Regions from separate parts of the Homo sapiens genome. Here region 1 is linked to region 2. Evidence: promoter capture Hi-C in human tissues and cell types (Jung and others, 2019). All regions are on one chromosome and are shown on one strand. The core of a region is centred on a gene start or on the middle of the fragment in contact, and the rest is flanking DNA. Distances in the headings are between cores, read along the strand shown.

Region 1 (5,860 bases), core at 3,152-5,651, 43 kb before region 2:
ACAGACTTGCACAAATGCCAACACAATCTTACACAAAACAATACTTCTGTGAGAACATCTGTACAGAAACTACCTTGCCAACCTCAACTGGCTTGTTATTGATTCTTGTAGCCAAGGATATTTATCCCAAAACAATTATGCAATCCTCCTCATTTTTCCTTTAAAAACATTTATGTTCCTTTACTTCCCTGGAAATGCACATCATTTACTAGGGTATGCATATTCCTATTGCAATGCCCTTTCTCAAATAAACAACATTTTCTTCTAGTGAGTCTCCCTCTCTATTATTTAGGTTGACATACACAGCTCTGCTTCTCATTATGGAACTCACTTCACAGCAGTGGGCTAATGCTCATGAAATTCAGTGGTCTTACCATGTTCTCCACTATCCTGAAGCAGCTAGCTTGACAGAACAGTGGAATGCCCTTTTGAGGATGTAATTACAGTGCCAGGTAGGTGACAGTACTTTGCAGGGCTGGGGCAAGTCTCCCCAGATGGCTATACATGCTCTAAATCAGGGTCCAATATATAGTGCTGTTCCTCCCATAGCCAAGATTCGTGGGCAGGAATCAAGAAGTGGAAAGAGGAGTGGCACCACTTAATATTATACCAAGTGACCCACTAGCAAAAGTTTTGTTTCCTGTTCCCATGACTTTATCTTCTGCTCGCCTAGAGATTTTTTTTCAGAAAGAGGAATGCTACCAGCAGGAGACACAATAATGATCGCATTTAACTGGAAGTCAAGACTGCCACCCAGCCACTTTGGGCTCCATGTGCCTCTGAGTCAACAGGCTAAGGAGAGAGTTACGGTGTTGACTAGGGTGATTGATTCAGACTAGGGGAAATTGGACTACTCCTCCACAATGGGGGTAAGAAAGAGTATCTGGAGAGCTCTTAGGGTATCTCTTAATATTATCATGCCCTGTGATTAAGGTAAATGGGAAATTACAACAACCCAATTTAGGCAGGACTACAAATGGCCCAGACACTTCAGGCATGAAGTTTTGGGTCACCCTACCAAGTAAAGAACCACAGCTAGCCAAGTATTTGCTGAATGGTGGTTATAAATACCCGCTATGGCCATGTGAACAGTTACAGAAACAAGGACTGTAATTGTCATGAATATTTCCTCCCTATTTTGTTATGTGTTTTTGCGTATATTTACATAGGTTAAGCAAATATCTTTGTTTTCATTTCTGTCTTATTCCTTTATCATGTAACATAAGATACATTGACTTTATATCATAATATTTAAGCATTGTTAATTTTTACATCACAGTATTTAATTATAGGATATCAGAGAAGAGTAAACATCACCCAGGGACTTTTCTTCCTCTTCTGAGGACAGGATTAGTCCATTTTCAGTGTATGCAGGATAATTATACCACATTAAGTGGAACTAATACCTTGTTAGTGTCCTTATTTGGAGGTCAGGTATGGCTTAAGGAGATGTATATGAGTGCCAAGTTGGCAAGGGGTAGACTTAATATTGGCTAATTTTAGGTGTCAACTTGACTGAATTAGGGAATGCCTAGAGAACCAGTAAGGCATTACTTCTGGGTGTGTCTGTGAGGGTGTTTCCCAGATGAGATTGGTGTATGAGCCTGTGGACTAAGTGGGAAAGATCTGCTGTCAATGTGGACAGGCACCATCCAGTCAGCTGGGGTGAGGATAGAACAAGAAAAAAAATAAACAGAGAGAAAAGGACTTCCTCACTCTCCCTCCTGGAGCTGGGACACACCCTTTCTCCTGCCCTTAGACGTGAGAACTCCAGGCTCTCCAGCCTTGGGACTCCAGGACTTAAACCAGCAATCACCCAGGTTCTCAAACCTACAGTCTCAGACTGAGAGTTACACCCAGGCTTTCCTAGTTCTGAGACCTTTGGACTTGGACTGAGTCATGCTACTGGTGTTTCAGGTCTCTGGTTTATAGATGTCTGGTCATGGGACTTCTCAGCCTCCAAAATCATGTGAGCCAATTCCCCTCATAAATCGCCTCTCATCTATCTACATCTATATCCACATCCACATATAAATATAGAAATATCTCATTTGTTCTGTCTCTCTGGAGAATCCTGACTAATATAATTGTCAAGTGACAAGACCTAAGAAGAAAAAATAAAGTAAGATAAGAAAACAGATTTATGGGGTGTGACATTTTCCGTGATTAAGTAATTTAAGAGAGACACAATCTGATAAATAGAGTTACTTAGAGGGGAGTAAAATTGCCTCTAGCTGAAGAAAGTGGAGAAGGCCTCCCAATAAAAGTAAACTTTTGAAAGCATCAGAGAGAAAATTTTAGAAAAAGATTGAATATACAAGACATTTTGAAAGTAAACTCACTACTGATTGGATTTGGGAGTTAAAAGAGAAAGATGAATGAAAAAGTATTTAAAAGCAGTATTTTTGGAACAGCAATTCGTATCTTTAGTGGGTCATGAAATTAATTTAATGGTTTACAACCAAATTCTTTAATGGAATGAAATAGATTGGAATAAAACAGATTACAGTATATCAAACATAATAAGGGTAAGTACTCTTGGGGGAAATTTTGTTTCACTTACATGTGTGTTTGCACATGTATATATATGTGTGTGTGGGTGTGTGTATGATGTAAAATGCATTTCTTATAGTGCATCATGATTTAAAAAAAAATTGGCTTAGAGATTTTAAATCTGTGTCAGTGAAAGACTGTGGTATTGTTAGTAAGAAAAAAAGACATTAACAAATGCCATTGATTTTAAAGATAAAGATTTTGAGATTAAAGTCTCAGCTGAATATCCAAAAACAAAGATGAGGCCAAGGCAGGTGGATCACGGGGTCAGGAGATCGAGACCATCCTGGCTAACACGGTGAAACCCCGTCTCTACTAAAACACAAAAAATTAGCCGGGCGTGGTGGCGGGCGCCTGTAGTCCCAGCTACTCGGGAGGCTGAGGCAGGAGAATGGCATGAACCTGGGAGGTGGAGGTCGCAGTGAGCCGAGATCATGCCACTGCACTCCAGCCTGGGCGACAGAGCGAGATTCCATCTCAAAAAAAAAAAAAAAAAAGATGAAATGGACAGGGGAAATGTCAAAGCTAGAGATATAAATTTGGGATTCATTTACAGAGAAATTATATGTGAAGCTATAGCAATGAATCAGGTTACTAAAGGAGAAAATGTAAGAAACAGAAAAAAAGTCCAGGACAAAACCTTGGCCATAAAAACACTTGAAGGAAAGGGGAAAGAAGAGAAGGCCAAAAAATATATATATATATATATTAAGAAGGAGCAACAGAGGTTCAAGGAAAATCAGGAGACTGAAGGACCAGGAGATCCAATAAAAACTGAATTTCAATAATCCCAAACATCCTAAAGAGTCAAGAAGGGAGATGTGGGTTAAGAAAAGCCACATGACACAGCATCTTGGAGAACACTGACAGTTTTCAAAAAAAACTATTTCTGCAAAGTGGTGGAAACACAAGCCAGGATGATTATGGCAGTATATTTTGTAGCGAGGGGAAGCATATATATATATAATCATTTACCTTATTTTCCAGCCTCATCAGATGTTTTCAAGGAACAGTTGCAGACTCATTGCCACAAAGTGTACGTCTTCACTAATTTAGTGCCTAGAATATTTTTGGAAGCACCTCAGGTTTTTCTTCAAGATGATGGCCATCAAGAACACCAAACATGCTTCAAGGGCTCAGAACAAGCCTGCCTTAGTCAAAGCATATGTTTTTAGTATGTTCAATGCTAATGACAAATCCTGAGCCTCTGGAGGGGTTCCCACCCCCCTACAACCCTATCCTTATCGTAGGAATGCCAGGAGAATTCATCTTTGGGGCGAAGACTGTCATTTTATTTGTGAAACACTTGAGTGGGACTTGTGGTTATGCAGATGTAAGACTCAGTGTCCAATCTAGGGGGAGGGATTAATACCATAAAGACCTCTGACTTCTAAACAGCAAAATGAAAGAGTTGTAGGCCTTGGGGGCAGAGACTGTCATGCTATTTACTTGTTTTTGGCTTCCTTGAGACTCTAGGAGTTGTGATTCAAGACGTGGGGAATAATGGGAGACAAGAATGCATGGACTATGGAAGAGTATGGCTCCAGCAAGATGGCAGAGACTAAGGAGGGAGACAACCCTGGGAGACTGCATTAGGGACTGGCCAATGGATTCTAGCAGCAGCAGAATCTGTTTTCCAATTTCACATTGTTTCTCCTCAAAGCTATACTTTTTTATAACCTAAGAAATGCATGTGTTCAGTAAAAAATTTCCTAACCCTTACAACCTGTCACTAATAACGAACTTTATTAAGTACTTACAACATAGCAAGCATTCTTCAAAGTGCTCTATGTATTTTAATGAATTAACTTCTCTGCTTTCTATTGCTTTTCCTTTATCTCTACCTCCCATTATTCATTCTCATTTATCTTTTCCATTGTCTTTCCCACTTTCTCCTCTCTCACTCCCTCCATTTTTTTCCCTCTACCTCTCTGTCACTCATTCTCACGGGCTCAATCTCACATAAAAATTAACTCGCAGAATGAGTTAACTTATTTAATCTTCATGGCAACCCAGGGAAAAAAGTATTATTATCAGCCTCATTTCACTGAGGTAAAAAAACTGAGTAAAAAACTGAGGTACAGGAGGTCATACAAGTAACTTAAGGTCATACAACTAGTAAGATTCAGAGCCTGGATTTGAACTCAAGAAGTTTGACTGCAAAGCTTATAATCTTAACCATTGCTACTCTCCATATCTTTGTGATTGCATTGGCTTTGGAAATAAAGGGAAGATCTACAATGACATCTTAAGATGGAGCGGACCAGAAATTGTGGTGCACTGTGGAGAGGCAAGGTGAGCCCAGCAGGAGAAACCTGGGATAATCTGCAGTAAGCCCTTGGCAATGATTTCAGGAGAATATACGCACTTCCTGGGGATGCCTAGAAGCCATCGAGAAGTAGCCTAGAGTTCCCACAGTATCATAGGACAGAGATTTTTAAGGAGAAATTTGCATATGAAAAAGAATGGGTTCTGCTTCTGTGAAATGTGATAATATATGCACGGTGATTTTCACTATGCTTGGATGCTCAGTAATTGGTCACTATATATGTTAAGTCTTCCTGCCCTTTTCTGATACTCTTTCTAACATCCCTTGAAGGGCAGTCCAAATTTTCACTCAATTACCATCATTCAGCTAACATTCACTGTCTGTTACTTGCAGGTCAGCAAGTTGACTCTATGGCACAAGCTTCCCCTTTTCTGGCAATGTTACTTCTGAGCCATGTTTGCAGCCTCCTAAGATGCTTTGCATACTGGAAAATAATTAAACTTACCCACAGATAAATAAACCAGAGTGAATCCATTTTTCTCTATTAATAAAGATTTATGTGAATATTTTTAATGAAGGTAACTGAAAGCAGGTGGAGGAATACGAAGTGTGTACGAAGCAGTTAGTAGTCAACTCGGCAGAGATCGAAGTGTGTCAGACTAAAACAAATATTAGTAAGAACAACATGTGGTCATTTTGCGCCTTTGTAGGAGGAAAGCCAATGAGAAACTTCAGTGTGGAAACATAACTGCTCTCCCACCAAACCCAAAAAGAAGCTAAACTGCTTATCAGGCATGGCGAGTATATGGTATGCGGTCAGCCTTATTAGCATATCTTAATTGAGAATTAGACCGTCATGGCAGAACACATTGTAAGTTTAAAACTTGGGAGACAAAATAATTCATTGAAATTCCCAAGGCACATCTTGTTTCCTACCTATTCCTTGAAATGTTTTCCTTTTTTTTCTCTCTTTGTTTTCCTGTTATTCATTTCTTCCTTCTTTCTTCTACCTTCAGCCATGCTCTCAACTTTCCTGTT
Region 2 (5,740 bases), core at 670-3,169:
TTTGTATAATTTTCACAGGATATTAACACTATTGATTTAATAATGGCTAATCCACATCCATGTAATGTGGAAATAATAAACATGTGAAGCAAATGTAGGAGTTCCCTTCATCTTGAAAAGTTGCCCTGATGCCTACTCAATCGTCCCCCTTGGGGCAGTTTTACAAGGAGCATTGCCTGCTCAACACAGGGTTGATTACATGTAACTTCTCTCCCAACGTACTGCCTTTCTAAAGGAAAAGCCTAACTTTGTCAGACAAGCTGAATCCTGTCATTCTCATCTTGTTTACTTGGGGAAAAAATATACCAGTGTCTATGTTGAAATGGGCCACACCTCGGTAGACACTCACCCAAAATGCTAACCGAAAAAAAGAAAAAAAGAAAAAAAAGAAAAAGCACCCTTCTTCATTCCTCCAGATTTCATGATTAGCATGAGTGTTTGCATTTATACAATCACATTTCGGGAACAAGAGAAAAGATAAGCATTTCAAAACAATCACTGCCTTCCATGCAAAGAAATTCCACATCCACTTTCTTTTAAAAGTTCTTTTATCGTTTCTGGTATGCCATCTTTTCACTCAGCACTGAAAGGCAGCTCTTTCTGGGGTGAAAGCACAAAGCCACTCAACAATTTTTAACAGGCACAGATGAAGTTCTCCTGCCCCACCCTCTTCTCCAAACCCAGCTTCCCTTTTGCCTCCCCCGCCCTCCACATCTGGCCAAGAGAAGGCATCTGGAATCCTCATCAGCTCCTGCTTCGACCAAGTGAACCCCTCCCACGTTTCATTTAAAACACCATTTGCCTCCCTCTCTTTCTCTCTCTAACAGTTTTCTTTTTTCATTTTTTTTCTTTTTCTTTTTTTTCCTTTTTGAGACAGAGTCTCACTCAGCTGCCCAGGCTGGAGTGTAGTGGCGCAATCTCAGTTCACTGCAACCACCATCTCCCGGATTCAAGCAATTCTCCCGTCTCAGCCTACCAAGTAGCTAGAATTACAGGCACCTGCCATCATGCCTGGCTACTTTTTGTATTTTAGTAGAGACAGGGTTTCACCATGTTGGCCAGGCTTGTCTTGAACTCCTGACCTCAGGTGATCCGCCCGCCTCAGCCTCCCAAAGTGCTAGGATTACAGGCATGAGCCACCGTGCCCGGCCAACAGTTTTCTTTAAACAAACCAATCCCCCTCTTCCCATCCTGTGAGGAGAAAAAAAATACTTAAATTTAAACAGAAGTGAATAGGGAAGCAAACAGGCAGGAAAAGCAATGTCAAAAATAAACTGAAAACCAGTTATCTATCCACCACCACCCAAAAAATCCCAACCAACAACCAGCGAGCAGAGTAACAGTTCAAGTCCTGAAGCAATCGGAATCAAAACGGAGGAGGTGAAAAACATCTGGCCAGTTCCCGATGTCATTTCCAAGGTGTGTGGTGTTTCCTCCATAAACAGGATCCTATCCCAGTTTGTTTCAAAGTCCCTGCTCCCTCCACATCCTAGAACAAGAACCCGGTCACTGCCAGGCACGATTTTAGCCCCATCCCATTGATTTCCCCAGACTCCGTCCTCAAAATACACTTTTCTGAACTTTCTAGAAAAAGTTGTCTCTGTATCCACTTTGAGCCAAAAGTTTCAAGGACTTGGTTCTTAGAGGATCATAGAAAAATAGCGAAGGAAGAAAAGAAAAAGCAAAACTAAGATGAGGTCAGAAGAAGCAGAGCCGTGGAAAGGAAGGAGAAGTTTTGCTGAGAGTCCCCACAGCGTTGGGAGCTGTCCTACCTGAAGGGTCCCAGCGACAGAGGCGCTCTGAGTGGCAGGTGCTGGCAGCAGCCCTGGTCCGCTCTTCTGGAAGTATGTGACCGCACTGAGGGGAAGGACCTGCCTCCCGAGGTTATAAGTTTCCTCTGCTGGTGTACTGGGGTGTGTAATGGGCGGTTTCTTTTCACCGTGTTTTAAAGGAGTTTCTATGAATCAGTCTGGCTTTAAAAAAAAAAAAAAGATTTGTTGGTAAGCTACGCCCTGCTAAGCTGGCAGTCAGTCAAGAGTGGCTGGGAGTGAGCCATCAATTCAAAGAACCCTGTTGTAGGCTCTCTCTGACTCAGACACACAGACCACAGTGGAAAAAAGGAGGGACATTGCTTCAAATGAGTAACAGGATCACACAAATAGATCTGTTTACTGAAGCCCATTCCTCCTCACCAAAAAGGAGACTTGGTTACCATGGACATAAGGCAAAACACAAGGTTTCAGCCTGGGAGGGGGAGGAAAGGGGCCAGTGTCCTGCTGACTGAAGTCCTAGGTCATCATCAAGCGAGATTCCCAGTCTTCCTCCCCCATTAAAAGCATCAGCTGCTGCTCACTGTCAGGAATTATCAGATTCCTTTTTTTATTTACTTCCCTGCCTGACCCTGGTGCACTGTCCTGTGGGTGGCTGTACAGGGAGGCCCTGAAGGCGAAGGGGACACACTAGGAGCTCTTGCAGCCCTGCCTCTGAGTGATGGAGCACTGATTGAACAGCAGAGAATTCCTGGTCTTTCATTATGCTCTGCTAGTGCCCGTGTGGACTCTCCACATTCCAGGAGGAAGTCCTCTAGTTAAGAACTTTGCTCTCTGTAATAATCAGCTGGACCTTGTTCTACAATTGACTTTCTTGAACTTGGCCAGTAGCATAATCATCCCTACTACCTCCCTGCACCACTCCTCTCTCTCTCTCAACTCTGGAGCTGGGAGAGGCCTGTGAAGTCATCTCATCCCACAGCCCAGGCATTCCACTGGAGAGAGTAAAAGCCCAGATGCCTGAGTTCAAGCCCAGCTCTCCACAAATTTGCTGTGTGACTTTAGGCAAACCACTTAACTTCTCCATGCCTATTTTCTCATGCATAAAATGGAGATGGCAGGTATGTAACTCATAGAGCTATGATGAGAAATACACATATAGGGGCTCATGGCAGTGTGCATAGTGAGCGCTCAACAAATCTTAGCTACAAGGATTATTTTACTGAAGAAGCAGCTCAGGCCCAGAGAGGTGAAGTGACTTATTCAAGGAGATACAGTACGTTACCAGTAGCAGCTTGGATCTAGGTCAGCACATCCAAGCAATTCTATTTCTGTTATTCTCTGCTGCACCCTGACAACTTATTTCAATTCAAAATATGCGTGTGTAGTATTTATTCATTCATTCTGCCAATACAGGCTGCACGTCAGTCTTCACTGGGCCTGATTCAGAGCACTGAGTCACAGAAGTGAATGACATCCCTGCCTCTTGGAACTTATATTCCCTAAAAAGATAGAAAACAGACTGGTGGCTATTCACCAAAATGTTGATCAAATTCGATGATAAAATTATGGATGCAGTTTAGTTTGTTCTGGTCACAATTCTGTATTTTCCAAATCCTCTGCAATGAACCTATATTACTGTCTTTAGGATGTTGGCATGTGGATGGATGGATTTTAGGAAAAAATATTTTAACATGGGAATGTGGAGAATATTTTCTAAGGTGGATGATAAGGAAAACACAACACACACACACACACACACACACAATGATTTGATGATGCTGCATCTTCACAAGTCCCTGAGAACTGAATTCTATCTCTGTAAAAGTAAGAAGGTCTGGATTTTCTCACTGAAAACTGATGACGTGATAAAAGACTGCATGTTTCTCATAGAGTTCCTCACCTCTCCCCTCTCTCATTGCTCATTTGATAATAAAAATGCCTGTCTGAGAGGGGCCACTCCCAGCAGTGGGTTGAGAGTCCCTGTGATCTCTGAGCATCCCAACCCTCAGGGAGGGGAGGGTGTCTGCAGGTGAGGCCAGGAAATCCCCAGGCATGTGCTGGCGCTCCAGATGGGCCAGTCTCCCCTGCTGGAATCGGCCTGTCTCCCTGGCCTTTTCCTACTCTCAGGGTTGCCTTTCACCCCTGATGCCCTCTGCCAGTTTTAAAGTCTCTCTTCCCTCAGCTGCCTGGAAAGGAGAACTGGACTCCAGAGGAAGTGTTCTCAGATGCTGAGGAGTATGTGGTCTGATTGCATTTCTTAAAGAGAAACCTGGAGCCAAGGAATAGCAGAGGGGAGGCATTCTCCCTCCCACCTCCTTCTCGGGCTTAACAAGGGGAAAAATCAGGAACTTTTCTTAAAGTACTTGAGTAGAGGAATCCTTCAGTCTATCTGGATTTCCATGGATTTCACAAAGAGAGACGCTGGGCTCAGGGACGGGCTTCAAAACAGGACCCAGAAAGCAGGAGGCCCAGTTTCCACGCCTACTACCTGGCAGTGGCTGTGAGCGAGGCATCTGCCTGCCTCCATTTCACCTTAAAGTGAGTAGACAGCATCACCTTCCAAATGGGTCTGATAAATCTCACCTTCCTGTGTGCTTTTGGAGATGTCTAGGTTTGGAGAGAAAATATTAAATGCATTGAGCTGTGAAAACACACCCATGCACACATGCAAAAACACATGCACGCACACACACATGCACACATGCACACACAGAGTGGTGCCATAGAAAGCCAAGTTGTGTAAATATTTTTAAAAGATGAATGCAAGTCCAGGATTTCTAAAGACTTATAATTAACCCTTGAAATATCACTGAGCTTATTTTATAAAACAAAGTTATCCAGTCTGGGAAAGCAATTGGATCTGTTCTGGCTGAAGTTCTAGCTTTTTGTGCCTCTGGATGTGATTAACTCGTTAAGCCTGAGTGTTCCTTTGGCTATGAGCAGACAATTTTGAGACTACAGACAGTAAACGGTTCAGGGCCTAAAACCACATGGGGCTGGAGATACAGCTCCCCTGGCGTTTATATGGTCTTTCCAAACAATGTCGAGTAAGCTGCCTTTCTGCTCCCATTTCCCCCATTTGGAAGGTAAATTAGACACATTCATTTTCTGCATGGGCAAAGAACCGGACAAAGTTTCATTTGACCTCACTCAATAAAGCCATATATTCTTGGGAGGGAATGTCTCTCTCACCCAGTGCAAATGTTACTCCAGCAAAGGGATATTTTCCCCTTTTTCGGAAGCAACAAGAATCAACTTCTGGCACGTTGCCATTTGGGGCAGATTTTCAAGTTTGAACCGGCGTAAACATTTTAATGAATGCATGAAACGAAGGCTTTTAATGACTGATACAAGAAGTCTACTAAGGCAGGTCTGGCCCCTACAGCCCACAGAAAAGAAAACTAATAATAGCTTGAACTTGTTTTTGTTCAAACTCAGTTAACCGAAAAGAATCCCAAACTATGCAACATGTTCCCCAAAGCTATTATATGAACAGGGATGTCAATATTAATATTAGCACACACTGCTTGGAAGGTAAATAGAATGGGGGAAAAAGTTACACAGTATCTTCCCAAGTCAAAGGAATGTTTGTTCCTCACAACTCCTCTTTGAAATTTGAGAATTTACCAGAAATGTTGTATTCCTTCCCTTTCCTTTCTTTCTTTCTCCAACTCTCCTCTCTCTATTTCTCTCTCAGGCTTTCTTCTGGCTTTCTTTATGGTTTTTGGGGGTGTTTTTGTTGTTTTTTGGGTTTTTTGTTTGTTTTTGTTTGTTTTTTTGAGACGGGGTCTCGCTTTGTCACCCAGGCTGGAGTGCCGTGGTGCAAGCTCGACTTATTGCAATCTCCGCCTCCTGGACCCAAGCGGTCCTCCCACTTCAGCCTCCTGAGTAGCTAGCACTACAGGCGTGTGCCACCACACCTGGCTAATTTTTTGTTTTGCTTTGTTTTTGAGACAGAGTCTCGTTCT

Evidence for each region. Contacts are between HindIII fragments. The study calls those that stand out against the background at their distance.
Region 1: a contact is called between a fragment that was not itself captured here and the fragment with the promoter of EMP1 in region 2, in 1 of the 25 tissues and cell types used here (neural progenitor cells).

Annotation. Positions count from the first base shown.
Region 1 is chr12:13,238,019-13,243,878 of GRCh38, reverse strand. No RefSeq gene overlaps it. Among named protein-coding and RNA genes, the nearest start is that of EMP1, 44 kb to the right of the region's middle. The HindIII fragment of the contact is 6,427 bases long and covers 1,188-5,860 here.
Region 2 is chr12:13,192,905-13,198,644 of GRCh38, reverse strand. It overlaps EMP1 (epithelial membrane protein 1), which reads right to left and starts at 1,919. Exons shown (of 5, transcript NM_001423.3): 1 at 1,773-1,919. The HindIII fragment of the contact is 16,024 bases long and covers 1-5,740 here.